4 separate regions of the Homo sapiens genome follow, and all the other regions are linked to region 2. The links are contacts of gene promoters, found by promoter capture Hi-C in blood cells and fetal thymus (Javierre and others, 2016). All regions are on one chromosome and are shown on one strand. The core of a region is centred on a gene start or on the middle of the fragment in contact, and the rest is flanking DNA. Distances in the headings are between cores, read along the strand shown. Region 1 holds the start of SEC14L3 (SEC14 like lipid binding 3). Region 2 holds the start of CABP7 (calcium binding protein 7). Region 3 holds the start of SEC14L4 (SEC14 like lipid binding 4). Region 4 holds the start of CASTOR1 (cytosolic arginine sensor for mTORC1 subunit 1).

What was found. The method cuts DNA at HindIII sites, captures the fragments that hold promoters and counts their contacts. A CHiCAGO score of 5 or more calls a contact.
Region 1: a contact is called between the fragment with the promoter of SEC14L3 here and the fragment with the promoter of CABP7 in region 2, in 2 of 17 cell types (activated CD4 T cells and M0 macrophages). The highest score is 7.0, in activated CD4 T cells.
Region 3: a contact is called between the fragment with the promoter of SEC14L4 here and the fragment with the promoter of CABP7 in region 2, in 1 of 17 cell types (activated CD4 T cells). The highest score is 7.0, in activated CD4 T cells.
Region 4: the fragment with the promoter of CASTOR1 here is called in contact with the fragment with the promoter of CABP7 in region 2 in 4 of 17 cell types (erythroblasts, M0 macrophages, M1 macrophages and 1 more); the score reaches 6.7 in erythroblasts.

What each region holds. Positions count from the first base shown.
Region 1 is chr22:30,469,009-30,476,147 of GRCh38, forward strand. It overlaps SEC14L3 (SEC14 like lipid binding 3), which reads right to left and starts at 3,009. Exons shown (of 12, transcript NM_174975.5): 1 at 2,897-3,009; 2 at 1,499-1,574; 3 at 1,204-1,247; 4 at 1,011-1,070. The coding sequence starts at 2,950. The HindIII fragment of the contact is 8,474 bases long and covers 1-3,701 here.
Region 2 is chr22:29,717,334-29,724,590 of GRCh38, forward strand. CABP7 (calcium binding protein 7) reads left to right here and starts at 2,670. Exons shown (of 5, transcript NM_182527.3): 1 at 2,670-3,200. The coding sequence starts at 3,092. It overlaps CABP7-DT (CABP7 divergent transcript), which reads right to left and starts at 2,570. Exons shown (of 3, transcript NR_186695.1): 1 at 2,215-2,570. RefSeq lists an enhancer at 3,979-4,769. The HindIII fragment of the contact is 23,163 bases long and covers 1-7,257 here.
Region 3 is chr22:30,501,620-30,508,068 of GRCh38, forward strand. SEC14L4 (SEC14 like lipid binding 4) reads right to left here and starts at 4,076. Exons shown (of 12, transcript NM_174977.4): 1 at 3,939-4,076; 2 at 2,058-2,133. The coding sequence starts at 3,992. RefSeq lists a silencer at 3,843-4,137. The HindIII fragment of the contact is 5,471 bases long and covers 3,542-6,449 here.
Region 4 is chr22:30,287,622-30,293,959 of GRCh38, forward strand. CASTOR1 (cytosolic arginine sensor for mTORC1 subunit 1) reads right to left here and starts at 1,884. Exons shown (of 9, transcript NM_001037666.3): 1 at 1,764-1,884; 2 at 1,085-1,155. The coding sequence starts at 1,876. TBC1D10A (TBC1 domain family member 10A) reads right to left here. Exons shown (of 9, transcript NM_031937.3): 7 at 6,300-6,338; 8 at 6,030-6,184; 9 at 4,369-5,230. The coding sequence ends at 4,754. RefSeq lists silencers at 1,542-1,621, 1,822-2,261 and an enhancer at 3,142-3,201. The HindIII fragment of the contact is 5,917 bases long and covers 299-6,215 here.

The DNA of each region.
Region 1 (7,139 bases), core at 1,759-4,258, 750 kb after region 2:
AACAGAGCTGGTTCAAAAACAGACACTGGCTGGGCATGGAGGCTCATGCCTGTAATCCCAGCTACTCAGGAGGTTGAGGCAGATGGGATCTCCTGAGGCCAGGAGTTTGAGACCAGCTTGGGCAACAGAGAGAGACCCTGTCCCTACAAAAATAAAAGAAATTAGCCAGCTGTGGTAATACACATCTGTAGACTTGGGAGGCTGAGGTGGGAGAATCACTTGAGCCCAGGAGTTCAAGGCTGCAGTGAGCCATGATCATGACACTGCACACCAGCCTTGGCAACAGAGTGAGACCCCATCCAAAAAAAAAAAAAAAAAGCAGATACTGCTGCTTCTGTACTGTGTGTCCTTGAGCAAGTGACACCACCTCTCTGAGCTCCATTCTACCTACTTTTTTTGTAAAATGGTTTGGATAACCCCTCACTCTTGGGACTGTTGGGGAAAGTCCCTGAGATAAAGTTGGCAAAGCAGAGTGCCCAGATCCGGGTACATGCCCTACAAGTGAAGACGTGACCATTACTCTACTAAGATGCCAGTGGTGGCACTGTCCTCATCAGTGCCTTGATGGGCTAAACTTCTTTCCCACCCAGACAGGATGCTTTAGGCAATGCCTTAGGGGGCAGGGGTGCAGAAGCACAGGCTAACCGTGGTGGTTACGAGCCTGGGTTTGGGGGCCCAAACAGGCCTGAGCATAAATCCCAGCCCTACCTTGGGCTATGGGACTGTGGGCAAGTTACCTAATTTTTGCTGGGCTTCAGTGTCCTCATCCACAAAATGGGGACAATAGCATCCATCATTGTGATGATTAAAGAAGCTCATGCTGCTAACATCTTAACCTAGGCCTGGACCTTGCAAGCCCCCAGGAAACATTCATTATGACTGTAGGAAAGGAGACTGCAGGCCTGCGGGTTCCACAGGCCTCTCAGGCTTGCTGCCCCTCATTCATGGTCCCCAGTGACCTTGAGTGGTACGTCCGTGAAAGACTGAGGTGTTTGGCGGTGTTGGCTCACCTCTGGGGGCTGCCAATCAAGGATATGGTCAATATCCATGGTCTTCCGGAACTCCATGTACTGAAAGGGAAATGAGTGGTAAGATCCCACTGGGCTCCCAGTGCCCTGAGAACAGGGATGGAAGGAGGGGCTTGAGGCATGGATTGCCCCTGACAAATCCCCTCCATAAATTTCCAGAGTGGATAGGTCTCACCTTGCGGAGCAAAGCCTCCGACTTCTGCAAGTCAAAATTCCGAGCTGTGGGAAAACAGAAGGAAGGTGTGAGACAGGAAAGATGCCTTGTCTTACTCCTGGCCAGTGGGAGCTATGGAGGACACTGGGGGCCTGGGTGAGACCTTGCTCCCCTACCCCCTTCCCTCCTCTGGACCTGAACATGTGAAGCAAGATTGTGTGGATGGACCCTGAGAGCCATGAGACACTCTGGAGCAGTTGAGACCAGGCCCCTCTTGATGCCCCCTGATCCCAACCTCTCCCACCTCTGCCCTCACCTCGGAGCCAGCGTAGAAGGAAATAATCATCAGGGTTGGGCAGGGCAGGAAGCACATCCTGGACGTTTTCTCGGAACTGGCAAGAGAGATGCTGGTTAAAGTGGCTCTCTCACATTGAGCCTTGGCCTCCAGACTCAAAGACTGTTTTCACAACCTCTCCTTTCCTCCCACATGCAAAATGGCCCACATTGATGAAAGGATGGGTTAATGGTTGAATAGAAGGGCAGATGGATCACTGGATAGGTGGATGAATGGAAGGAGGATAGATGGATGAATAAATGGTTAGAAAGAAGAATAGATGGGTGAGTGGGTAGGTAGATGGAAAAAGGGAGAAGAAATCAATGGATGAATGGATAGATGGATGGATGGAGAGTGGGTGGGTGGATAAATCAGTGAATGGACAGAGGAGAGATGGGTGGGTGATTGAGAGAAAGAAAGATGGATAGGTGGCTGCGTGGGTAGGAAGAGGGATGGGTGGATGAAAGAAAGGATAAACAGCCAGGTATGGTGGCTCACGCCTGTCATCCCAGCACTTTAGGAGGCTGAGGTTGGTGGATCACCTGAGGTCAGGAGTTTGAGACCAGCCTGGCCAACATGGTGAAAACTCATCTCTACTAAAAATACAAAAATTAGCCAGGTGTGGTGGCACATGCCTGTAATCCCAGCTACTCAGGAGGCTGAGGCAGGAGAATTGCTTGAACCTGGGAGACAGAGGCTGCAGTGAGCTGAGATCGCTCCACAGCACTCCAGCCTGGATGACAGAGACTCCATCTCAAAAAAAAGAAGAAAAAGAAGAAGAAAGGATAAATAATTGGGTGGATGAATAAGTGGATTGGAGTTTGGATGCATTCTTAGTTCCCTCCATGTGTTAGCCCTCAAAACATCTGCTTTTTTTCATCCCATCTTCTATTAAAACATGGTTAATAATTATATGTCCTCTTCTTCCTTTAGCTCTTTGAAAGACAACACTTTCTGCTCTGTCTCTTGGGCTTTTACAGACTGGTCATCTTTCAGGATCCCAAAGAGGAAGGGGTTAAAGGGCAGACCAGCAGCATCTTTCAGCTCCTACCTATGGTGCCTGGGAGGGAGGAACGGGGGTACCTGGCTGCCAGGTAAACCTCTCTGGTTCTGGCTCCTGGATGAGAAGAAGTCAGGCTTGACTTGGGTGGGCACCACCCACGTTATTGCCTGGAAGTGGTGCTAGTCCCTCAACCCCCGCCCGGGACAGGGTTGATGTTACTGGGCACCGTGGGGCTTGACCCTTTGGGAGGTAACACCAAAGAGACAATGTCAAGGACATGCTGAATCAACTGAGTGGGGCAGGATTCCAGCCACTTCTTTCCACCCCCCAGCCCCTTTCCCCTGGTCTTCCGGAACTCCAGGGGGAGGGGCTCTCACCTTGGCCAGGGTCTCTGCCTGTTTGGGGCTCAGGTCTCCAACTCGGCCGCTCATGGTGCTGGCTGGGGCTTGAGGAGTGGTGGCCACTATAGGCAAGAGGCCAAGCCTAGTTTGTCAGCCCTGACCCAGCTGGGTCCTTTTGCCCCCACTCCTGGGCGTGGCTCCAAGCGCCTCCTCATGGGCCAACTGTTTAAATTGCAGATTACATAATTGGGATTAAGTGAGGTCCCCTGCTTGGCTTGGGGACAGATCTGGAGGGGCAGGCGGGCATGGAGCGTGTGCCAGAGGTCCCCTGCCAGGAGGAGGCAGCTGGGAGGAAGGGAGGCTGGCCTCCCGTGACCTTGGAGCCCAGAGTGAGTGCCTGTAGAACCCGCTGACCCTCCCAGGCCTCCAGTGACCACTGCCCTGGAGAAGGGGGAGTTTCAGGAGAATGAGGACCGCTCCTTGTGGGTACCCTTTCTCCCTGAGCCCCAGTCTTCCCACACTTAGGATTCTGCAAAGATCACCCCCCTCTACCCAGCTCTGAAAGGGTAGGATTCTGAGGCTTGGTCAGTGTAGTAAACAGTTCATTCACTTTGTTGGGGGTGGGAGGCCCAGGTCCTTCTTTTGTGTCCACAGTCAAGAAGAGGACAGATGGCATCTTTTGAACGTCACTTGCTTCATTTATAAAATGGGGCCGTTAATGTTTGCCTTCCCCTCCTTATGTGGTTAGAGGGAAGATCTAATGAGACATAGGGACTGTCAAGGGTTGTGTGCATCTGAGGGATACTCTCCTTCAGCTCTCCTGGTCCCCCCTGGAGCTGTAAGCTTCAGCTCCAGGAAGGGAGAGACCCTGTTATCCATGACTCTCTCTGAAGAAACCATCAGCTTGAGGCTGCAGCATGGCCACATGGCCACATGGCCACATCTCAGCCTTGAGGGGGTCTGCATGGGCTGAAACCAACCCCGGGCTAGCCTCGGCCCCAGCAGCTGGGCTAGCCCACACCATTCTGCCTAGGGCTTTTCTAGGTCCCCTACTCCTGGGGCATCCTGGGTACCCACCCCTGAGCTACAGTGGGCCTCTATTCTGGGCTAACCCAGGGTCTCTTTAGGCTAGTAGATGTTGGTCAGTATCAGACATCTTCTCAGGGACATCTTCCTTGCTCTGGGCTCCTCACAGAGTTGGATCCAGAAGGAGAAGGCAGGGCTAATGCTGGCCATTTCCCTCTGCCTGGGGAGCCCGTGGCATGTACTCAGGAACAGTTAGGTAACTCTCCACACCCCAGCCCTGCCCCATTTCACATTCCAGCCTCAATTTCTGCAAAGCCCCAGCTGCTGTCTACACCCACTTCCTGCCAGGCCAGTAATGTACAGAGATTGGGTTCCTCCACTGCCCTTTCCCGAGCCACTAATCCTGCCCATTTCTCACCAGTCTCCTTTCTCACCCTAATCCCTATAATGTGAGGTGTGCTAGTTACTTCTAGGGGCATCGGAGACTGTGAAGGAGAGCCAGGAGGGAGGGTTGGGGGTCTCCTCAGGAGTTGTGAGCCTTCACACTGAGCTCTTTTCCTGACCCAGACCACAGATTTGTCAAGTACCTTGCTATGTTCACAAATCCTCATCAGCTACAGTGCCACTCCACAGAACTTCCTGTGATGGTAGACATCTTCTGTCTGGGGTGTCCTGTTAGACATATCTGGTAGCCACTAGTTACATGTGAAAGATGGTTAGCGTGACTGAGGAACTGAAGTTTTAATTGAATTGGATTTTGATACATTTTACTTTAAATTGTTCAATCTGGCTAGTGGTTACCATATTGGATGGTGCAGGTGGCCCATTTTTATTTTATTCTACTTTATTTTATTTTATTTTTGAGACAGGGTCTCACTCTGTTGCCCAGGCTGGAGTGCAGTGGCATGATCTCGGCTCACTACAGCCTCGACCTCCCCAGGCTCAATCAATCCTCCCCACCTCAACCCCCCGGAGTAGCCTGGACTGCAGGCACATTCCACCACGCCCTGCTAATTTCTTATATTTTTTGTAGAGATGGGGTCTCATTACATGCATTACCTCATTTTGGCCTGGTGAGGTGGCTCACACGTGTAAACCCAGCACTTTGGGAGGCCGAGGCAGGTGGATCACCTGAGGTCAGGAGTTCCAGACCAGCCTAGCCAACATGGCAAAACCGTGTCTGCTAAAAATACAAAAATTAGCCGGGCGTGATGGCGGATGCCTGTAATCCCAGTTACTCAGGAGGCTGAGGCAGGAGAATGGCCCGAACCTGGGAGGCGGAGGTTGCAGTGAGCCGAGATCATGCCACTGCACTCCAGCTTGGGGGACAGAGTGAGACTCCATCTCAAAAAAGAAAAAAGCAGTGCATTACCTCATTTAAACCTCAGAACATACCTGTGGTGTTGGGTAGGTACTATTACGCCCATTATGCAGATAAGCAAACTGAGGTATGGAGAAGTAACTTATCCAGGGGTAAACCCATGCAATTAACCACTCTGCCATTGTGCTGTTATGCTATCCCATAGTCTTGGCTCTAGGAGCTTCCACCTTAGTTAGGGAGAGAGCCTAAGCATGAAAGTCACCTATATGTGATGCAGTTGGCATCTGAGCCAGGCCTTGAAGAAAGGAAGGATTTTGATTTATGGAGAGCAGAATAAAGGGCATCCCAAGTGGAGGGGATGGCATGGGCAAAGGCATGGAGGTGGGAAAGTGAGAAGCATGTGGAGGGGGTAGATTACAGCAAACAAGACAGATTAGGACCCAGCTTGCATAGAGCTCACAGTCTCCCATTGGTGAGCATACCCTCTGTGCTGGGAGCTTTATATCATTATCAAATCATTCAGAAGCAGGTATGGGTATTCCCATTTTACAGCTAAACAAATAGAAGTTCAGAGAGATCAAGAAACTTTTCTGAGGTCACACAGCCAGTAAATGAGGAGCCAGAACTTGAACCCAAACCTATCTGACTCTGGATTGCACAGCCCACCCTGCTTTCCCCTGTAGGGCTTAATATTGTGTCCAGAATATAGTAAGTGCTCAATAAATGCTTTAAATCGTCATTGTGTAGAAGCCTGGATCTGCCTGGATTCAAGCTGGATTCAGGCTGCAGGGTGTCTTGGGGCCAGAAGGGTTAATTTTGCCTGCCTTGAAACAAAGGCCTTGGGGAAGGAGAGACCCCCAGCCTGCCCCCTAAACCCCAGAGCACACTGTCTACAGGTAAGGTCCCATGTGTGTTTGGCTCCTCATTTACCAAGCTCTCAGGGGACCATGGCAACAACCACAACTTAAACAAACAACCGCAGGTGGGTAGATAGAGCTGCTTGCGCCCCAACCTCTCCTGTCAGCCGGTTACTAGGAAATCTGAAACAGCCACCCCTTTCAGTCCATCCCTGGCACATTCCTGATCACCCTCCCTCCCAGGATGGATCTTGCCAGAAGCAGTTGGGTAGGTCTAAAGGGGCCCTTCCCGGGGGTACAGGAGCCTCGACATAGGGCAGGCATCACTGGGAGGAGGTGAGTAGGGGGCATTTAGACCACACAGATGTGAAGTGGGTGGCCTGAAAAGGGGAGATGGAAGCCAGGTGCCGAGGCTCACACCTATAATCCCAGTGCTTTGGGAGGCTGATGTGAGAAGATTGCTGGAGGCCAGGAGTTTGAGATCAGCCTGGCAACATGGTGAGACCCTGTCTCTTCAAAAAATTTAAAAATTAGCTGGGCATGATGGCGTACACCTGTAGTCCCAGTTACTTGGGAGGCAGAGGCAGGATCGCTTGGGCCCAGGAGTTTGAGGCTGCAATGAGCTTTGATAGGGCCACTGCACTCCAGCCTGGGCAACAGAGTGAAAGCTTATCCTTTAAAAAAATAAAAGGGTTGCAGGGAGATGGAAAGGGATTGGGGCACACGTCTCCAGACCCCAGTGGCGCTCTCAGTGGCACCTGGGACAGTCCACTTTCTATCTTTCTTTGGGCAGTTTCATCTCCTTTAATAAATAAAAAAAACTTAAGTGTGATATAATTCATACATCACAAATTCATTGTTTTTAAAAATAGAAGGTATCAAGTTTTCTTACCTTTTTATTAAAAAAAAAATCAGTAACAGACAAGAGTGTGAGAGACAGCTACAGAGAGGTGCTCACTCCAACACCGCCTGCGGAAAAGGTCACCCGGGGTAGAAGAGAACCCCTCCAGTGGGGACCCTGGGTTGGGGTGGTGATGGCAGCTAATAGCCAGTGGGTGCAGCAAGGGAGGGTCAT
Region 2 (7,257 bases), core at 1,420-3,919:
TCTGCTCCCCCGTGACGCACAGAGGAGAGGACGGGGCTGCAATGCCGAAGGGCGGGGGGCGGTGGTGAGCGGGCAGTCGTTCATTCACTAATTCTCTCGTTCATTCATTTGACAGATGTTCATCCAGCCCCAGCCACCTTAGCCCATTCCAGTCCTGTGCCAAGCGTAGGAGATCTGGAGAACCCAGACCCAGACCTGCCCTTCAGAGCTAAGAGAGGCCCTCTCACACTTCTGAGCTTTTGCCCACCCTCCTCTTGACCCCTGGAATTCCCTTGACTTGAAAAAAAAAAAGCCACCATGGGTTGGGAGTGGTGCCTCACGCCTGTAATCCCAGCACTTTAGTAGGCCAAGGCGGGTAGATCACTTGAGGTCAGGAGTTTGTGACCAGCCTGGCCAACATGTTCTCTACGAAAAATACAAAAATTAGCTGGGTGTGATGGCATGTGCCTGTAGTCCCAGCTATTCGGGAGGCTGAGGCATGAGAATAACTTGAACCTGGGAGGCGGAGGTTGCAGTGAGCCGAGATCATGCCACTGCAATCCAGCCTGGGCAACAGAGAAAGACTCCACCTAAAAAAATAAAAAAAAATACCCACCTGGACAGCAAGCCCAGGAGCTTCCCCTTCACAGGGCGAGTACCAACACGCTCTGCAGCGGCCTCCCAGGGAGTCACTGGGAGCTGGGTTTCCTGCCAGCCTCTCAGCAGGCTCTAGCCCACTCTCCCTTGGCCCAGGGGTTCTGATTTAGAACTGACAGGCCTGGGCTGGCACAGCCTGGACACTTAGTAAACGTGGAACGACTGAGCTGCTGCTGCGGCTCGCTCTCTCAATCAATACTCGAAGCTATAATTATTATTAATTCCTATTCCTTGGGGGGGATGTTCATGCTAATAGGAAACTCCCAAGAGTTTCAGGGAGGTGATGCCCGGCACCTTTCCTACATTATGTCACTTCATCCTCACCGCTGCCTGGGATGTGGCACTGCCACCTTAACAGGCAGGGAAACTGAGGCTATGGCCGGTTAAGGGACCTGACTGTAGTTCCATGGTGAGGAGATGGTGGATGCAGAAGCCCCAGTCTGCCTGGCTCTTGGTGCTGGGTTCTTACTTCCTCAAGTCTCTGCTCCATCAAAAACACTGGGGAAGCTCAAGGCATTCAGCTCTAGCGGTGGAAGGTCAGAAGATGGGACAGGTGGGCAAGGAGAGCTTTGGAGTGGGGTGGGAGCTTTTCTGGGGCCTCTCTCACCTCCAGGCCCAGGTCCCAGTGGGCAACCAGCTAGCCCGGAGAGGTCTGGGGAGACAGACAGACAGCTGGTGTCCTTCCTGGCTCCTCCGCAGGTTATAGATGTTTCTAGGAGCTCCCTCCAGAGCAGGGCCCAGGAAGTGCTGGGCCCAGGCTGACCCAACCCCGCTTGGCTGGGGCTAGCATCTCTCACTGAGCCCCTTCTCCCCAGACCCTGAGACAAGGCTGCGATTAATCAGTAACAAAAACAGAAACAAGCAGAAAAGTGTAATCAGCTTGGGAAGGGCAGGGCAGGACCGGGCAGGGCTGTGCAATCAGCGTTCCTGCTGGGACCTTTAGCTGATTGGGCCAAAGGGGGCAGGGAGGTGGTCCCAGTAGGGGGATTCAGGGAAGCACCCAGAGATGGGGCCACAGCCAGGCCAGAAGGTCACCCCCTCCCATGCACATCTGTGCACCATATGCCCACACCACTCCCAGCCCCAGGGCCTGCACACCTCCCCCGACCTGCCAGCGTACAACCTTGGCACACACAGGTGGCCACACACTCCCGACATTTGTCCATCTGCATATGGAGTCACAGACACCTGCGCACGTGCCCAGTGGCACATACACACCCTCATGGATAGCAGACATATGCACACGCAGGCTGCTCCCTCAAACACCTGCCCCCACCCCAGCTCTGGGGTGCCGACGTGCCCTGGGGCCTGGGGAAGCCCTGCACATACATTAGGTCTGAGCTGCAGCCATGTGAACTGGCAGGCCCTCACACCAGACCCCACAGGCACCGGGCCATGTCTCTGTCCCGAACTGCCCTGGGGGCCATGAGACACTTTGGCTCCTCTTCTGCAAGCTGAAAGGTAGGGGCTTGGGAAGGGTCCGGGACTGGGGCCCCATTGTGGGGAGCAAGGTCAGCGGCAGGGTGTCAGTCACAGGCAGGGCAGGAAGCCTACCCCAGACGTGTACCCAGCTCTTACCTGCTGCTCCTGCCCTGTGACCTTGGTCAACGTCCTTCTCTCTCAGCCTCAGTTTCCCCACCTTGGATCCTCCTGGCACGGAAACGGTGACTCTTCTTGAGGACCCAGGTGCTTGGGGCCAGTCTCACCTCTCTGGGTCTACAGTTCTTAGTTCCGGGCTCTCCGCTCCTGGTGCGTGGATGGGGGAAGGTGAGCCAAGGGGCAGGAAGGAGGACCCCCGCAACCCACCCCCTCCCTGGTCCTGGTGGCTGCAGACTTAGGGTGAGGAGAGCCAGTGAACAGAGGGGAGCCCTAGTGGGAAAGGGGAATCGGGGCCGAAGGGGAGAAGGAGCCCCGGGCAGGTTTGGGGCGGCCGCTCAGGGGCCGGCGGCGGGAAGGGGCGGGCTGGGGGTGGGGAGCGCGGAGGGGGCGGGCGGGCGGCTGGCGGGGGAGGCGGGGAGCGCAGCCAGCGCGGCACAGAACGAGCGAGCGAGCGAGCGGAGAGGCGGCTACAGCCTGAGCGCCGGGCCGGTAGCGGCCGCGCCGGCGAGCGGACTAGCGGGCGGCGAGCAGCGCGGAGCGCGCGGGGCACCGAGGAGCGGGCGCGGCGGGCACCGCGCGAGGCAGCCGGAGCTCTCGGAAAGGCCAGAGCGGCGCCGCCCCCGCTGCCCCTGCGGGGCCCCGGCTGGGAGCCCGACGAGGGAGCGGGCGGCATGGCCCGGCGGCCCGGGGCGCGGGGGCGCTAGGCCCCCGGAGGGGCGTCCCCAGCCTCGCCGCTGCCGCCGCCGCCCTCCGCAGCCGCGCGCCCCGCCCGCTCCAGCCGCCCCCGGGGCCGCCACCGGCCCATGAGCCCCGGCCTCAAAGTTTGCGGCGGGCGGGCGGGCGCGGAGCCTCCAAGATGCCGTTCCACCCGGTGACGGCGGCGTTGATGTACCGGGGCATCTACACCGTGCCCAACCTGCTGTCGGAGCAGCGCCCGGTGGACATCCCGGAGGACGAGCTGGAGGGTGAGTGTCCGCCGGGATCCCCGCCCCGGCGGCCCTCCTACCTGTGCGCCCAGGTGAAGCGCGGGCCAGGGGCGCGGGGGCGGGGGGCGGGGGGCGGTCCGCAGGTGCCGGTTGCCAGGTGGGCGCCCCAGCTAGCAGCTGTGCCCCGCGGCAAGACCTGTCCGCACCCCGGGGCGCCGCGGTGGGGGTCGCTCAGGCGGAGAGCGGCCCAGCCCCTGCCCGCGTGGTCCCCAGCGCTGCGGAAACTTGCCGGGCCCCGCAGCGGGGTCACGGGGCCGCGCAGTCGGCGGTGACGGTGCGGCAACGCGGCGGACTGGGGCGGGGGTCCGCGCTGAGCCCCCAGCGCCGGCCCGGCCGGAGCACCCGCATCCTGATCCCCTCCGCGGCGCCCGCCCGCGGCTCTCTGCTCGCATTGACATTCCGCTCGTGTCGCTTTAAAAATTCAATCTGCTCGGGCAGCAGCAGAAGGGGAGAGGGCGACTGCCCTGCTCTTGCCCGCTGCGGGGCCGCCCCCGTCCCCACCTGCGGCCGTAGCCCCTTCCCTGCAGCCCTGCGGGGACCCCCAGCCCGGCGCGCCGGGAAGGCGGCCCGGGAGGCGGTGGCGACAACAAGTGGCCGGACTGGGCGGCTAAGTCGCGATAGCCAAGCCTGGAAGGGAAAGGCAGAGAGGCCAGGACCCAAACCCGCCCCCACCCCGTTCCCCCTGCCTCTCAGACTCGCAGGGGGATGGCAGGCCGCTGGCTGGGCGAGGTCAGAGCAGAGGGCAGGGGCAGGGGTCCGGGACAGTGTGTCCTGAGGAGCAGTGAGACCCCTGGGGCCCGCCCAGCTCCTTCCCTGCTGGGCTGGGGGAGGTGCTGAGGTTTCCCCTCCCCCCAGACCTCCTGGAGCCCCCATATGGAGTGGAGTGGGGGATCTGGGCTGATGGGGGTCACGGCCTCCTGGGATCTGCATGTCTGCTGTTGCAAGGGGCTGAGCTCACCCAGAGGATGGGCCTCTCGGGGTACCTTGGATCCAGGGGTCTCTGAGATCTGGAGGCTCATTAGGGCCTGGGAGGGTGCAGCCAAGACCAGCACAGTCAGGGAGGATGGTGGGAGCCCAGGGGAAGCCATGGAGGGAGGTCCTCCCTCAACCCAGGCCCAGGGTGAGGGCAGATCTTAGAGGAGTCAGAATGGGTCGGGGGAAGATCCAGAGAGAGAAGGCAGCCTCTGCCTCGCTCACTGCACCATAGGCATGAGCCACCAGGCTCCTCACCAACTGCCCCTGCAAACCCTCAGAAGCGGGGAGAGCTGTGGAGACAGGGTCTGGGGTCTGATGCGGACAGGACAGATGGATGATTGGGGCCCCCCGACATGACCTCACCATTCACCCCTAAAACCCAGGGCCAGAGCCTCCTCCAGAGCCCGGGGAAAGGAGGGGTACGATGGTGGGGGGCGAAAGGTCAGGAGATGGAGCATAGGCCTTCTCCTCCCCACCTTTGTCCCCTCCGGCCCTGGGCCACCTCAAACCTCCTGCAGATTTTTCCCTCCAGAGGCCCTCATCCATCCCCTCCTCCTGACCATCCAAGCAGGAGTCACCATGTCTCCCAGACCCCAGGCAGCTTCCGCTTCACTCCCTCCCCTTGCTCCCAGCACCCCCACCAGGACCCCACCACCCCAACTCCAGCCCTTTCTGGGTCCCTCCTCTCCTGATCCCCAGTCCTGGAGTGCACTCCCTGAGGAAGGGGAGAGGCTGAGAGGCTGGCTGCAGGGGCGAGGGGCCGCAGGGTGGGCAGTGCAGGGGCAAGGCCGCAGGCTCCCCAACCAACGACATGGCGTGCTGGCAGGAGCCCAGCTGCGTTAGTCACCAGCCACAACAAGTGCCCTCCCCGCTTCTCTCCTGTCCCCTTCTCCTGGGCCCTGGGGAGCTGAGGGGCCCTGACTCAGGGGGCATCTGAAGGGCAGGGCCCTCCCTGGGATGGGCAGGTGGGGTCATGGAGTAGACAGATGCCTGGGTGGTCCCAGCTCATCTCTGGCCCAGTGGGCAGCTACAGATGAAGGCAAGAAGTTTTCCATGACCAGCCCCCTTCTTGGCTGCAGGTGCCCTAAAAGCCCTCTGGCGGCCCCAGGTCCCTTTCAGCAGTCCTTGAATGCCAGGGCTGGCCATTCCTGGCACGGATCCCCCTCTGCCCTCTCCGCCTCTGCAGGGCCTCATGAGTGCTCCTGCCCCAGGGCGGTCTGGGCGAGACCCAGGCCCTCTGCCGGGAGGACGCCATTCGCGGAGGAGCCACATGTGCCAGGAAGAGGGAGCTGGGCAGCCCGGGATGGAATGCTGCAGACAGTACGTGCCTGCCGCAGAAATCCAGGGGGCGGTCAGTCTGAGCGGAAAGGAGGACCAGGCAGGGAGGTGGGAAGCACAGAGTTAAGATGAGGGCTTCCCAGCCAGGCGGCGCTGGGTTTGAGTCTCTGCACCTTCAGCTCATGGAGTGACCTTGGGCAATCGCTCACCTCTCTGAGCCTTGGTTTCCCCACCTATAAAAGGGGGGCTGGTGATGGAGGATGCAGTGAAAGTACCTACCTAGCACAGGGGGCTCAGGGACCCAGATGCAACATGAGGGGAGGCCCTGCGGGGGTAAGAGGCTGGAGCGTGCAGGGCCCAGGCCCGTGAGGGTGTGCAGGAGGCTGAGCCAGAAGGGCAGGCTGGCAGGGAGAGCTGGGTGGAAAAGGCCTTGAAGGTCTGGAAAAGGTCTCTGGGGACCTGTGGCCCTGGGGAGGCATGGAGGGCAGTTGGCAGGGTAGGAATGTGGCTGCACAGAGCTGGCCTGAGGCCCACCCAGGCCCTGTGAGGGACAGGCACGGACTCTCTTAGATCCCCTCTGTGTGCCCACCATGGCTGGGACATACACCTTTTCCAACATACACACACAGCAGAGTCCTCCAGGAACACTGAGGCTGGTCCCAGCACCATCAGCTGACTCGAGCACCCAAGGGTGGGAATGGGGTGGCTGCAAGTCTTAGCCCTTTCTGGCCGAAGAGAGGAGGAAGGAGTCAGACCTCCAGGCAGACAGTCCCCAGGGTAGGGCTCTGGGGCTGACACTTGGCCTGCCCAGTCTGTGAGTGGAGCCTTCATTGAGAGTGGCCAAATGGGGGCCTTTAGGGCAGGGGAGGCTGGGGAGTCCCCTTTCCTACCTCTCTGCCCTGCAAGGCCAGGAGCCGCCTCTGCACAGCCAAAAGCTCAGGGAGGCCAGAGTGGTGGGGCACGGGGCCAGTGCCACGGAGAGTAGCAGCCACTGCGGAGGATGGACACTACCCTCTTCAGTGACCTCCAGCCAGTGCCTGCCCTCTGGACTCTGGCTGCCTGATGGAGTGCGGATGTCCCTTGGAGTCTGCTGGGGACTTGGGCCCTGATGAAACTCCACAGGTTGAGAAGGACATTGGGGGATGTTAGGCTGGAGGTGGCAGGTAGGGGGCAGGTCAGCCTGGAAACCTGGTGGCCCTGCCAGCCCATTGCCAGCATCCTCATGCCAAGATGGTACCCGTCAGGCTACCCTTGGCCTTACGGGACGGGAAGGGAGCAAGGCTTTCGGGGAAATGCACCCAGCTGTGGGGTGCTGATGGCACAACGGTGGCAGGAAATCACGACACCTGCCCCACTCAGGGAGCCCCCGGCAGAGGCCGGGCTTCAGTGATGGTGCCGGAGTCGCTCCCCATTTCACAGATGAGACACCCGAGGCTTAGAGAGGGACGTGACTTGCCCAGGCCACTGGGCTGCTAAGCAGGATAGCCAGAATCCAAGCCCAGGCCTCTGGTCCCAGCGACCGCCAACAGGAAAGGTGGCCTGGTGTCCCAAGCTCACTCAGTCCTCCCTCTTCTTCTGGCTCTGCTATCTGGGACATTCTGATTTATAGCATCCATCTCTGAGCCAGGACCAGCCAGACACATGCTTGATTTTATTGCTTAATCATCCCAGCAGCCCCATTGTACAGGTGAGCAAATACCTGCCCAAGGTCACCCTGCCAGGATGTAGGAGAGCTGGGACTTGACCTTGGGTCTCTGCCACTTCAGGCTGCCTCCCTGGCTGG
Region 3 (6,449 bases), core at 2,826-5,325, 790 kb after region 2:
TGAAGGAAATCCAAATAATATACGGACTGTAGTTAATAATAATGTATCCATATTGGTTTATTAATTCTAACAAATGTACCATCATCATCATAAGAAGAAGATGTTAATAATAAGGAAAACTAGGTGCAGAGTATGTGGGAACTTTTTGCACTATATTTGCAATTTTCTGAAAATCTAAAACTATTCTAAAAATTAAAGTTTTTATATATATATACACACACACGCACATATATATATATATATATATATATATATACATACACATACTTTTTTTTTTAAGACAGAGTCTTGCTTTGTTGTGCAGTGGCATGATCTCCGCTCACTGCAACCTCCGCCTCCTGGGTTCAAGTGATTCTCGTGCCTCAGCCTCCTGAGTAGCTGGAACTACAGGCACGTGCCACCACACCCAGCTAATTTTTGTATTTTTGTAGAAATGGGGTTTCACTATGTTGGCCAGGCTGGTCTCGAACTCCTGGCCTCAAGTGATCTGCCCGCCTCGGCCTCCCAAAGTGCTGGGATTACAAGCGTGAACCACAGGGCCTGGCCAAAATATTGAAAAAAAACAAAAAAACAAAAACAGACAGAACAAATCAGAGGAAGAATTAGTCCCTGGTAGGGACTTCCTTTTCTCAGGTACTGTGTGCATCTGCGACCTCATTTGACTCACAGCGCCCTGAAGGTAGGGACCAGTATTATGCCCATTACACAGAAGAGGAAAGTGAGGTTGGGACAATGACTGGCTTGCCACAGGCACATGCTAGCACTGGAACTCAGTCACAGCTCTGCCCAATTCCAAAGCCAGCGTTTTAAACCCTGCACTGTATGTATGCTTTCCGGGCTGACTCCTGACTTCTCACTCATCTCAAGTTCAAAATCCATTCCATGAGGTGTAATGAGTTAAGATGAATTTTTCCCTAAGCTCTGGGGCAGTGTCTGTTATTATTATTTTGAGATGGGGTTTCACTCTGTCGCCTAGGCTGGAGTGCAGTGGTACAATCTCAGCTCACTGCATCCTCCACCTCCCAGGCTCAAGTGATCCTCTCACCTCAGCCTCCTGAGTAGCTGGGATTACAGGTGCTCGGCAGCTCACCCGGCTAATTTTTGTATTTTTTGTAGAGATGAGGTTTCGCCATGTTGCCCAGGCTGGTCTTGAACTCCTGAGCTCAAGAAATCTGCCTGCCTCAGCCTCCCAAAGCACTGGGACTATAAGTGTGAGCCATCGCATCTGGCTTGTTATTATTTTTTTAGACTGCTGCTGTAATTCCTAGAAGAAACTGCTTCTCTAGCATTCGCTAAATCCACTTCCTTAAGTGTTTGCTGGGCACCTGCTCAGTGCACTAGGGCACCTCGGTTCCTTTAGGGGACAACAGAGCCCTGTCCTCGGGGAACTGGAGGTACACCCAAAGGCAAGTACTGAAAACAGTGCTCTGCAACATCTGCCCCAAGGGCTGGCCAGGCCAGAGGCCTGAGGATGTCCTGGCTGTTAACTGTAACCTCACCTGGACTCTGTGCCCACCTGTTGCCTCATCCTTGCTTGACAGATGAAGAAACTGAGGCTCAGTGGGGTTTTGTGCTGTGCTCATACACAGGGGAGCTCAGATTCTAGTCAGAGCAGGCTGATTCCAGACCCTGTGTTTTTTGTTTTTTTGTTTTTTTTTTTTTGAGACGGAGCTTCACTCTTGATGCCCAGGCTGGAGTGCAATGGCGGGATCTCGGCTTACCGCAACCTCTGCCTCCCGGGTTCAAGCGATTCTCCTGCCTCAGCCTCCTGAGTAGCTGAGATTACAGGCATGTGCCACCAAGCCAGCTAATTTTGTATTTTTAGTAGAGACAGGGTTTCCCCATGTTGGTCAGGCTGGTCTCGAACTCCCGACCTCAGGTGATCTGCCTGCCTCGGCCTCCCAAAGTGCTGGGATTACAGGTGTGAGCCACCGGGCCCGGCAAGCCTGTGTTCTTTACTACCCTACAGCTCCATTCCCTCAAAGTCTCCCACTCCTCTCCTGAGACCCTCCTTCCTTCCCTCCCTTTCTGCGTCCCCTGACCCCTGCAAGCCTCACCTCGCAGCCAGCGCAGGAGGAAGTAGTCATCAGCATTGGGCAGTATGGGCAGCAGGTCCTGGAGGTTCTCCCGGAACTGAGCGGAGGAGGATCTGATGGTCGGCGGAGCTCTCATGACCTCGGGGGCCACCAACCCCGCCCCTAACCCTTCCCACATCATCCACCAGTCAACTCCACCAGAAGACCATGCAGGGTGCTGCCCTGAACGACTTTGCCATCTGAAAATAGGGCACCCTCCAGCCCAACATAGGAAAAAGAGTTGGGTCCTTCCCAAAATTTGGGAGTGCCCTACACACTGGACTCCCATTCTACATGTCTAAGGTGGGGCCCTGGCATCCTTATTTTTAATTTTTATTTTATTATTATTTTTATATTATTATTATTATTATTATTATTATTGAAACAGGATCTCACTCTATCGCCCAAGCTGGAGCGTAGTTGCGTGATCTTGGCTCACTGCAACCCGTGCCTCCCGGGTTCAATAGATCCTCCCAGCTCAGACTCCCAAGTAGCTGGGACCACAGGCACACAAGATGCCCAGCTAATTTTTGTACTTTTTGTAGAGATGGGATCTTGCTATGTTGCCCAGGCTGGTCTCAAACTCCTTGGCTCAAACAATCCACCCGCCTTAGTATCCCAAAGTGCTGGGATCACAGGCGTGAGCCACCATGCCCGACTGACAGCCTTATTTCTACAAGGATCCCTGGGAGAGTCTGATGCAGGCCAGCTAGGCGGTTTTAGGAATGTTGTCCCTGATACTGCATCTTGAGGGTTTAGATTTAGAGGCAAGTTACCAAACCTCTCTAAGCCTCAGTTTCCTTATCTCTGAAATGGGGATAAAAATAAACTTGTACCAATCAAAGGAGTCTGTGCACGTAAAACACTTAGCAGGCTTGGCTCCGAGCAGGTGTCAGATATATGTGAGCACTCAGCCAGCGTGGACTGCCTGATGCCCCGGACAATGGAGGCTTTGTGGAAAAAAAACAGAGGCAGAGGTCAACAGACAGGGGCTGAAAGAGAAGCCAGGAATGCCTTATCAGGGCATCTGTTGCGTCTGAGAGAGAGGAGATCTCACTTCCCTGGGGACCAACAGAGCTGAAGGCAAAGGCTGGGTTTGAAGGTGAATCTGTGAATCCAAATTTGGGATTAGAAATATGAGGCCGGGCGCAGTGGCTCACACCTGTAATCCCAGCACTTTGGGAGGCCAAGGCGGATGGATCACAAGGTCAGGAGTTCGAGACCAGCCTGTCCAAGAGACCTGCCTGGCCAATATGGTGAAACCCCGTCTCTACTAAAAATACAAAAATTAGTCGGGTGTGGTGGCGGGCACCTGTAGCCCCAGCTACTTGGGAGGCTGAGGCAGGAGAATCGCTTGAACTCAGGAGGTGGAGGTTGCAGTGAACCGAGATTGCGCCATTACACTCCAGCCTGGACGACAGAGCAAGACTCCATCTCAAAAAAAAAAAAAAAAAAGATTACAGAGAAGCTTGGGCCCTAAGAACAAATCACAAAGAGAAGCCAAACAAACAAATGTTGCAACCTGGACATGAAAAGCAGTCTGTCTACCCAAGGCTGCCCCCGCAGCCGGATGGCAGCGCCACTCCCTCCCCCACAACCGGGGAACAAGGACCAGGGCCGGGTGGTGGAGAGCACGCAAGGTCAGAAGACTGGATTCGGCTCCTGGTCACGCAGAGATGGGCCCCTGTCCCGCGTGCTGCACGTAGCCGCCTCAACAACCGCACGCTGGACCAGAGGGCAGAACAGAGGCGCTCTCTCCAGGCTCGGTGTTCCAGTCTGTACCATGGGGGCTCCAGCCGGGTTGGGCAGTGCCAGGCTGCTCAGGGCCCCTCCTCAAGCCTCCCAGCCCGCGATGCTCCTCACCCTGGCCAGCGCTTCCTGCTGCTGGGGGCTCAGGTCCCCGACTCGGCTGCTCATGGTGCCCGCGGGCGCAGAAAGGCTCAGGGCGCAGGTCCGCCCGCCCGCCGCCGCCTGGCCTTGTATCCGCTGCCGCCTGGTTGTGCCTCCTGGGCCAGATGTTGGTCCCGCCCCGACGGGAGAGGCACTGGGCCTGCCCCGCCCCGCCCAGTTCTCTCCTCCTCTCCAGGATTTTTTGCTGCGGTCACCAAGCGCACCCTACTTGGGACAGGGAGGTGACCTGCCGGGAGAGTGGCCTGGGGCAGCTGGAGGCAGCCACCTCCAGGCCTCCTTACTGCGGGGGCTCCCGCCTGTTCGCAGGTGGCAGGAAAGGGAATACACTGAGATCCTCTTTCCAGCAAAATGGAGGAAATTTTTTTTTAAATGTTTTTTTTTTTTTGGGCCAGGCGCGGTGGCTCACGCCTGTAATCCCAGCACTTTGGGAGGCCGAGGCGGGCGGATCACGAGGTCAGGAGGAGATCGAGACCATCCTGGCTAACATGGTGAAAACCCGTCTCTACTGAAAATACAAAAAATTAGCTGGGCGTGGTGGCGGGCGCCTGTAGTCCCAGCTACTCGGGAGGCTGAGGCAGGAGAATGGCGTGAACCCGGGAAGCGGAGCTTGCAGTGAGCCGAGATCGCGCCACTGCACTCCAGCCTGGGTGACAGAGTGAGACTCCGTCTCAAAAAAAAAAAAAATTTTTTTTTTCTTTTTCTTATTTTGAATAAAATAGAGACCGGGTTTTGCTATGCTGACCAGGCTGGTCTGGACCTCCTGGCCTCAAGCAATCCTCCAACCTCCGCCACCCAAAGTGCTGGGATTAGGGATGTGAACCACCATACCTGGCCAACATGGAGGAATTTTTAATAAACCTGGCTCAACCCTCTAGGACCCCCAGGGCTTTTGTCTAATGACCCCCAAGCTCCTTCCCCTGACCTTGAACACAGCCTGGGACCTGTCAGTGCTCACTGACTGATAGGACAGCCTCATGTGCAAAATGGTTCCTGCCCTCAAGATGGTTGGAAGGATAAGAGGACGCACCCTGGGTCAGCAGAATGTCTGGCGTTGCCTGCTCAGTAAGTGCTGGCTGGTAGGAATATATTTCAGAATTGTGTTATTACTGAGGCTGTCACCAGAGCTGGGAGCTGCAGGGGTGGAGATCCTAGGGTGTCCCAAGTGCGGAGCTCCTGGGTGAGAGCCACAGTCTGAAGGTGGAGGCATGCAAGGTGCCAGCCGTGGACCAATGGAAGCCCTGGGCAGAGTGACAGAGTGGGCGGAGAGCCAAAAGGCCACTCTGGCTGACACAAGAGAGCCAGGCGGAGATCACTAGGAAAAGCAAGAAAAAAGTTCAGCCAGGCGCGGTGGCTCATGCTTGCAATCCTGGCACCTGGCACTTTGGGAGGCCAAGGCAGGCGGATCACTTGAGGTCAGGAGTTTGAGACCATCCTGGCCAACATGGTGAAACCCTGTCTCTACTAAAAATACAAAAATTAGCTGGGTGTGGTCGTCCACGCCTGTAGTTCCAGCTACTCAGGAGGCTGAGGCACAAGAATTGCTTGAACCTGGGAGGTTGAGGGTGCAATGAGCCAAGATGGCACCACTGCATTCCAGCCTGGGCGACAGAGCCAGATTCTGTCTCAAAAAAAGAAAACAGAAGTTGGCTGGGTGTGAATTTTCAAGAGAGGAGTAGAGGGGACGTGAAGATGAAGGAGAGAGTAAAACAGGCCACAAGACCCTGTTCCCTCTGTCCTCCCATGGAATCAAACCAAGCTCTAGTCCCGAAAGGACTAACCCAGTGGCCGTGAGCCACAGAGGCTTTTGAGCCCAGACAACGTGGCTTGTCATAACAAGCATAGAGACATGCTGTAATTGTAAAATACAAACCAAGTTTTGATGGCTTAGTACCAGAAAAAGTAAAATGTTTCATTAACTAATTTTATTTATTTATGTACTGAGACAGCATCTCACTCTGTCACCCAGGTTGGAGTGCAGTGGTGCAATCATGGCTCACTGCAGCCTTGACCTCACGGGCTCAAGTGATCCTCCCACCTCAGCCTCCTGAGTAGCTGGGACTACATTCTCACCCCACCACACCCGGCTAATTTATTTTTATTTTTATTTTTATTTTTTTATAGACACAGGGTTTTGCTATGTTAGCCAGGCTGGTCTCAAACTCCTGAGCTCAAGCCATCCATCTGCTTCAGCCTCCCAAATTGCTGGTATTACAAGCGTGTGCCACTGCTCCTAGCCTCATTAATTAATTTTATATAAATGATTATATATTAAGTGATATTTTTGAATATAATAGGACAATAAAATATGTTATTAATATTACTTTCACCTGTTTCTTTTGATGTTTTAATAATTTTGAATTATTTATAATGATAATTTTTTTTCTTTTTTTAAGACAGGGTCTCAATGTGTCACCCAGGCTGGAGTGCAGTGGCAAAATCTCCGCTCACTGCAAGCTCCACCGC
Region 4 (6,338 bases), core at 634-3,133, 570 kb after region 2:
CTCAGTTTCCCTTTCTGTGCCTTGGAGGGCTCCATCAAGGTAAGGGCAGGTCTGGAGGCTGGGGCTCCTGAAGTCCCTATGTGTGCAAAGACTGAGAAAGGCTTCAAGTGCTGGCCTGGTGGCATTGAAACTTCCCACTTAAGATCAGAGGTCCAGATTCAGACAGACCTGGGTTCAAATCCCAGCTTTGTTAATTTGTCTTATGACCTGGGGTGGGTGATTTGAGTCTCAGTTTCCTCATCTGTAAAATGGGACGACAATATCTACCTCACTACGGTGTCTTCTGTGGGTTAGCAGAAGCTTTGTACCACATGGCACCACCAGGGGGCATTCGCAGATCAGGTTGGCTGGGGGATTGCCTTCCCCTTTTGCAGACCCAGACTTCTGAAGTAAAAACAGGGAAACTAAGGCCTGCAGTGGAGCATGGGGACAGGCTAAGCTCCAGCTAGCTGGCCTGAGACTCCAAGCCTGTGAGGATGGGCAGGGCCAGCAGCAGGAGGAGGAGCTAGGCGTCAGCTCCAGGCCCCAGGGAGGGCCCAGGCTGGCGTCCAGTCCTGAGCTGGGGCCAGGGCCTGGGTGGCTGCTATTCACCCCAGCACAGCCAGGAGGCCTCCAGGACCCTCCCCTGAGATGGCTGCCTGCTCCTGCATTCCTTCCCTCAGACTCCTGGAGTTTCCAGACCAGCAGGGGAGGAGGTGACCCAAACCAGAGAGTAAGACCAGGAGGAAATAATACCCAGGGATTTCTAACAGCAGCACTTGACTGGAATCATAACAGAGGCCCTTCTGCAGGCCTAAGACTGCTGAGTGCCCCTCAGCGGTTTTAAGTTTATAAAGGCCTCATGGGACCCTATGTATCAGAACCATAACTATACCCATTTTACATAAGAGAAAACAGCTCAGAGAGGGAAAGTGATTTGCTCAAGGGCACACAGCCAGGGAGTGGTGGAGTAGGATTCGAACCCCGACCCATCTGCTTTTAAGGCTTAAGCTCTTGGGACGGATCCCAGCAACTGGTGAGAACCCTACAGAAGGGGAGCACGACAAGCCCCTCCCGTACTCCCGTTCCCCAGACCAACCCCCACCTTTAAAGCCCTCCTCGTCCACCATAAGCGTGTAATCCTCAGGGGTCTCCGTCAGGCTGAAGAACTTGCACCTGGTTGGGGGTGGGGAGCATCTTCAGCTTGGTGTGGAGAACTAGGGGTCGGGAGTGGATTTCTCTCCATCTGCCCCGAGACACCCCCGCGACCCTGGGCCGGGCGCCTTCTTGCCCTCTCGGCCTTTAATTTCCAGGCCAATGGGATGTTAGCCCCATCTCGGGGGTTGGGGGCTACTTTCCGGCCTCCCGACCTCTCCAGGAACCCTCCACCCCTCCACTCCTGGAGGGAGGAGAGGTTCACACCCGCGGCGACAGCCCCAGGGGCGTCGGACCTTGGACCCCCTAGTCCAGCCCCTCTGACATGAAGGGAGGCGTCCTGGAAGGAGCTCCCCGCAGTGACCAGGTAGGAATGCCCCCATTTGACACTACTGAGTTAAGCATTGCCCATCCCAGGCTGTTTGCGCTTTGCCCCTGGGAGGGGGCCTCACGGGGCCGGATAGGCGGCGGTCCCCCAGGCCGGATGGCGGCCGGACGGGGAGAGTCCTCCCCACCCGCTCCCGCCCGCCTGCCTGCCTGCCTTACGGCGATCCTAATCCTCCGACCCTGGCCCGGAGCGAGAGCAGAGCCCCCAGCCCCTATCTGCGCTCCCGAACCCGGGCGCGCACCGGCTGCGGCGGGGCAGGAAGAGCAGCTTGATGAGCGGGTGGGTGTAGAGCCAGAGACCGGGACGGGCGACGCTCAGCACCCGCACCCGGTGTTCTAGGATGTGCAGCTCCATCGCGGCTCGCGCGGACCCGACCCCGCCGCCAACTAGACCCAGGCCGCACGGGAGGCGGGGCGGCGGGGGTGGTGCCCGAGCCTTAAAGGAGCCGCTGCGCTGCCGCGTCCACGCCGCCCGCTGCGAGGCTGACCCGCCCAGCCAGGCGCGGCGTCCGGCTCCTTGACGGCCACGCCCCGCGGGAAGAGAAGCCTATTGGGTGGTCACGCCTCCTCCTAACGCCAGAACCTCATCCCGCTTTCCAGCCAGCCCACCGAGACCGCCCCGAACGGCTCCGCCTTTTTTAGTACTGGCTCGGGGATAGACCCCACCCCGTCTGACTCCTCCAGGCCCCGCCCCTGACGCGCCCCCTCCCTGGGCTCCGCCCTTTCCGCGGAAAGCCAGCTGCGCAGCCGGTGGGAGCATCCCGGAGGGGACGTTTCTGTCCTTCTGGCACACACGTGGGTTTCATGATTGAAGTCCTTGAGACAGAAGGGACACGAAACAAACTGGAGCTCGGCTAGGACCAGAACGCTGCCCCCAAATCCCCGGAGCAATGAGAGGCACAGGTCTGCTGTGCAGCGCTGTCCCCCGGGCGCCTTTCGCTCTCCTGCCTCTCATGGCTGCAGGGGGCAGGGCCGCCAACACAGGATTGCGATTGATACCTACCCTTCCCCGCTTGCGAGGGGGCTGACAAATTGAAACCTGGCCTGGTAGCCCCACTTGTTCCTTTCATCCAACTTTCAAAATAGAAGGCTCCTCACCAGGGGCACACAGAGGTAGAATCCTAGCCACCTCTGCCTGAGCGACATACTTTGGGTTAGGGGGCTGCAGGTGGCCAAGGCCTAAGGCTTGAGGTCCCTCGATACCAACAAAACCCGGAAGTGCTTGAGCCAGTAATGCCCAGTGCTCAGACTTTGGTGGGGGAGGCCCTTGCAGCTGAGGTTCAGTGAGTACTCAGACCTCAAGCCTGAAACTTGAGCCCCAAAGCCTGCAGCCCTTAGCTAGCCTGTGCACATCTAAACTTGCTTCAGGTTCAAGGAGGCCCCCGGCACTGGCAGACACCCCAGATCTTATCAGGCCTTCACAGGTCTAAGACCCCCCCAAGGCTAAGCAGGCATCAGCATGTCCATGTTGGCTCCATGCAGGGCTGAGAATGCTCCAGGGGACCCTTGCCTGGCCTGAGCACCCTGAGGCCTCAGATGTGAGGCTTTGAACCAAGTAGACTAAAGCAGGCCTCAGGCCTGATTGGGACCCAGCAGGCCTAAGCAGGCCCTCTGCCTGCTCTGGAGCCCCCACCATAGGCAGATGGAAGCCAAGCTAAGCCTCCTCCCTGGACTCTCGGGCTTGACACATTCCTGTGAAACACTATGTAGCCACCACATCCTGGCCTATCCCCTGGAGGACTAGGGGAAGGAGGAGCTTCTCAAAGGCTGAGCCCATCTCATCAATGGCAGGTGCAGACAGAGTGGGAAACCATGGGGCTGAGGGGAAGGAGGCAGGAAGTGGAGTGGCCTACCCTGATAGTCTCTTGAAACCCTTCACCTCCCTAGGCCTCAGTATCCCCAGCTGTACCAGGACAGGATGTTCCAGGCCCAGGCGAAGGCTGAAAGCTCCCAGGGAGGCTCTGCTCCTCCCTCTCCTGCCCCCTCCCGCTATGGCCTGGCCTGGCCCAGCTTGGTCATCTGCCAGGAATAGCGCTATTGTTTGACTGGAAAAGCTGCTTCCTCAGCAGAAGGGGGGCCTCTCCCAGGGACACCCTGTCCTTGCCCTCACCAGTCATCAGGTTGTGACCGCAGTGCCTGCCTGGGCCCTCAAGGGCAGAGTCAGGTCTCCTGGAGCCCTGGTCAGGAGAGGAAGCTGAGTGAGGGGCTCTTGGTGCAAATCCGGCTGAGGCTTTCCCATTCAGCTCCTGTTTCCTCGTCTGTTAAATGGGGCTAATGGAGCCTACTTGACCAGTCCAGCCTGGCACTTGGCAGTAAATCGAAGGCGGCATTTTATCAAAGAACCACAATTCGCCCCCCTCCCTGAGGGCCTGGGCTGAGCCTGTGAGGACATTCGTGGTGCTCCACTCCGGGCCCCGTCCCTGACCCCAACCCAGAATCAGCTCTCAGAAACTTACTGGAGCCTGAGGTAGCATCCAGGCCAGGACTTGAAGGAGGAAGACCCTGAAACCTCCTCCTTAGGAGTCCCTGCCCCCTTGGTGGGTGGGTGAGGACCAAGGCCTAGGGAGCACGCCCTGCTCTGCCCAGCACTGAGCTCCAGCCCTGGTGTCCCTCATCTGTGGCAGAAGGTAGACATAAGGCAGTGGGGATGGGGTGAGTGAAAATGGGGGTTAAGAATGGGGGCTGACCAGGGACTTGGCATGTCCTCTGGCAAAGGTACCTCTCAGAGAGGCTCTGGTGCTGGGCTGGGGCCCAGGAGAAGGGGCTCTGTAGGGCAAAGAGAAGAGATGCTGAGCACCAAGGTGACCAAGGTGGTACCCCCTTCCCAGCCCCTAGCTGTACACGAGCTCTCTATACAAGGCTGTTTATTTCTGTACAAAACCATGTTTCTATTTTACACAAAGAACACCCCACCCTTTCCCCTCACACCAGCACCCTAACCCTGGGGAGCATCCCCCAGGAGGAGGGGGCTGAAGGAGGCCCCACCCCCCAGGCCCTAGCTTCTGCCTGCCCTGGCTGGGCCAGCCTGAGTGCCACTGTAAAGAAAATAAATAAGGAGGCTCAGGCAGAATCTGTGTTGGACCAGGCAGAATCTGTGTTGGACCAGCCAGACTCCAGCCCAGCCCAGTGGCCAGGCAGCTTGGCCCTCAGAGGGTGGGCAGGATGTGGAATGTCAGTTCATGAACCGTGTAGTTATATGGAGACCCCGCCCTGGAGGCCTTAGCTGCCAGGGTTACAAGTAGGTGTCCTCACTCTCTTGGGACGTCAAGCTCTCCTGGGAGCGGTGGTGGGCTGAGACCTGGGGAGCCAAATCCTGAGGGGCTGAGTCCTTGGGGGCTGAGTCCTTCGGGGGCACATGCTGTGGGGGACATGCATCTCCTGCAGCGGCCACCACCATGGCTTGATTTGGGGCTGGGGGCTTCTCCAGCTGCCCTCTCCCCTTCATCTGTTTCCGCTGCTCCTTCTGGGCCTGCTTGGGTGGCTTGGGCTTGGCTTTGGAGCCAGGGAGGGGGGCATCTAGGGGCAGGCGGATGGATGGTGAAGGTTGTAGGGCAGGCCGGGGACCAGGTTCTGCATCCAAGATAGCCTTGGCACCATGCAGCCTGGGCGGGGAGCGGCACTGCAGCTCACCCCGGGTCTCCTGCCAGCGCCGCAGCTGAATGAGGTGTTCGCGCTCAATCTGGCGCTCTGTCACGGGCAACTCCACCACCTGCAGGGGCAGTGACACAGGCAAGTGGACACCAAGAAGAAGGACCTTCCCCTTCTGCCTCCCAGCCTGGGCCCCCAGTCTTCCTCAGCATCCCCCAGCCTTGGCCACTAAACACTGACCCCAGGAAGGATGAGGGTCTAGTCCCAAGCTGCAGTCACGAGCCCCACAGCTGAGTGCCAGGTGAGCTGGACACTTGAGACCCACCGCCTCAGAGGATAAAGCTGCCCACAGCTTCACGAGTCCACCTGCCTGACTATGGGGCTAAAGGGGTAAGACCCAGACAGACAAAAACCTGCTCTCTGCCAACCTGTCACCCACCGCTGCCCAGGGCAGCCTGGCTGCTTAGGCTCAAATTCCAGCTCCACCTGGGTGGGTGACTTTAAGGGGAGTTGCTTAGTGATTCTGCCTCTGTGAGCCTCCATTTCCTCATGTGTAAAAGCTGGTCACGCATGTTCCACCTAATTGCCCCTGAGAGACAAGTATCCATAAAGAAAGAACAAAGAGAAATAAGAGCCAAGGCTGCGAATGGGGTACCAGGGAGGAAGACGGGGCCGTGGGTCAACATTCTTCTTCATTCCCAAGCGGCTCGGATCCAGAAGGCCCTGCAGAGCCAAGCCTCTCTGTGCCCCATGCTCTTCACCAGACAGAAGGATGAGGTCCACCCACATGTTCTGTGTTGCCTAGCAATGGTCCTGGCATAGGATCCACCCTCAGGGGCTGAGGGTTAGCGGGACCCCCTTCAAAGGACCCCCACCTGTCTTCCTCCCTCCCCATGATAAGGGGCAGGCATGGGCTGTACCTCCTGGACCAGAAAGGCCTCCTGCATGATCTTGGGGCTGAGGCTCCGCAGTCGCTCGATGGTCTCGTACTGGCCCTGGCAGGCTTTGACCTTCTCAGGGGAGCCCAGCGCGTGCTTCAGCAGCACCAGCCCCACCCGGAAGATGATCTTGACCCCTGCATGGGGGATGGGCAGTAAGTACAAGGAAGCTTTTTGGGGTTTCTCTGCAAAGAGAGGCCCCACTGTGGGCTGCTGGGGACAGGGGTGCTCCCCCCAAGCCCAGCCCAGTACCTTCACAGAAGAACATGTCCCAGACACGCAGCACAGAGC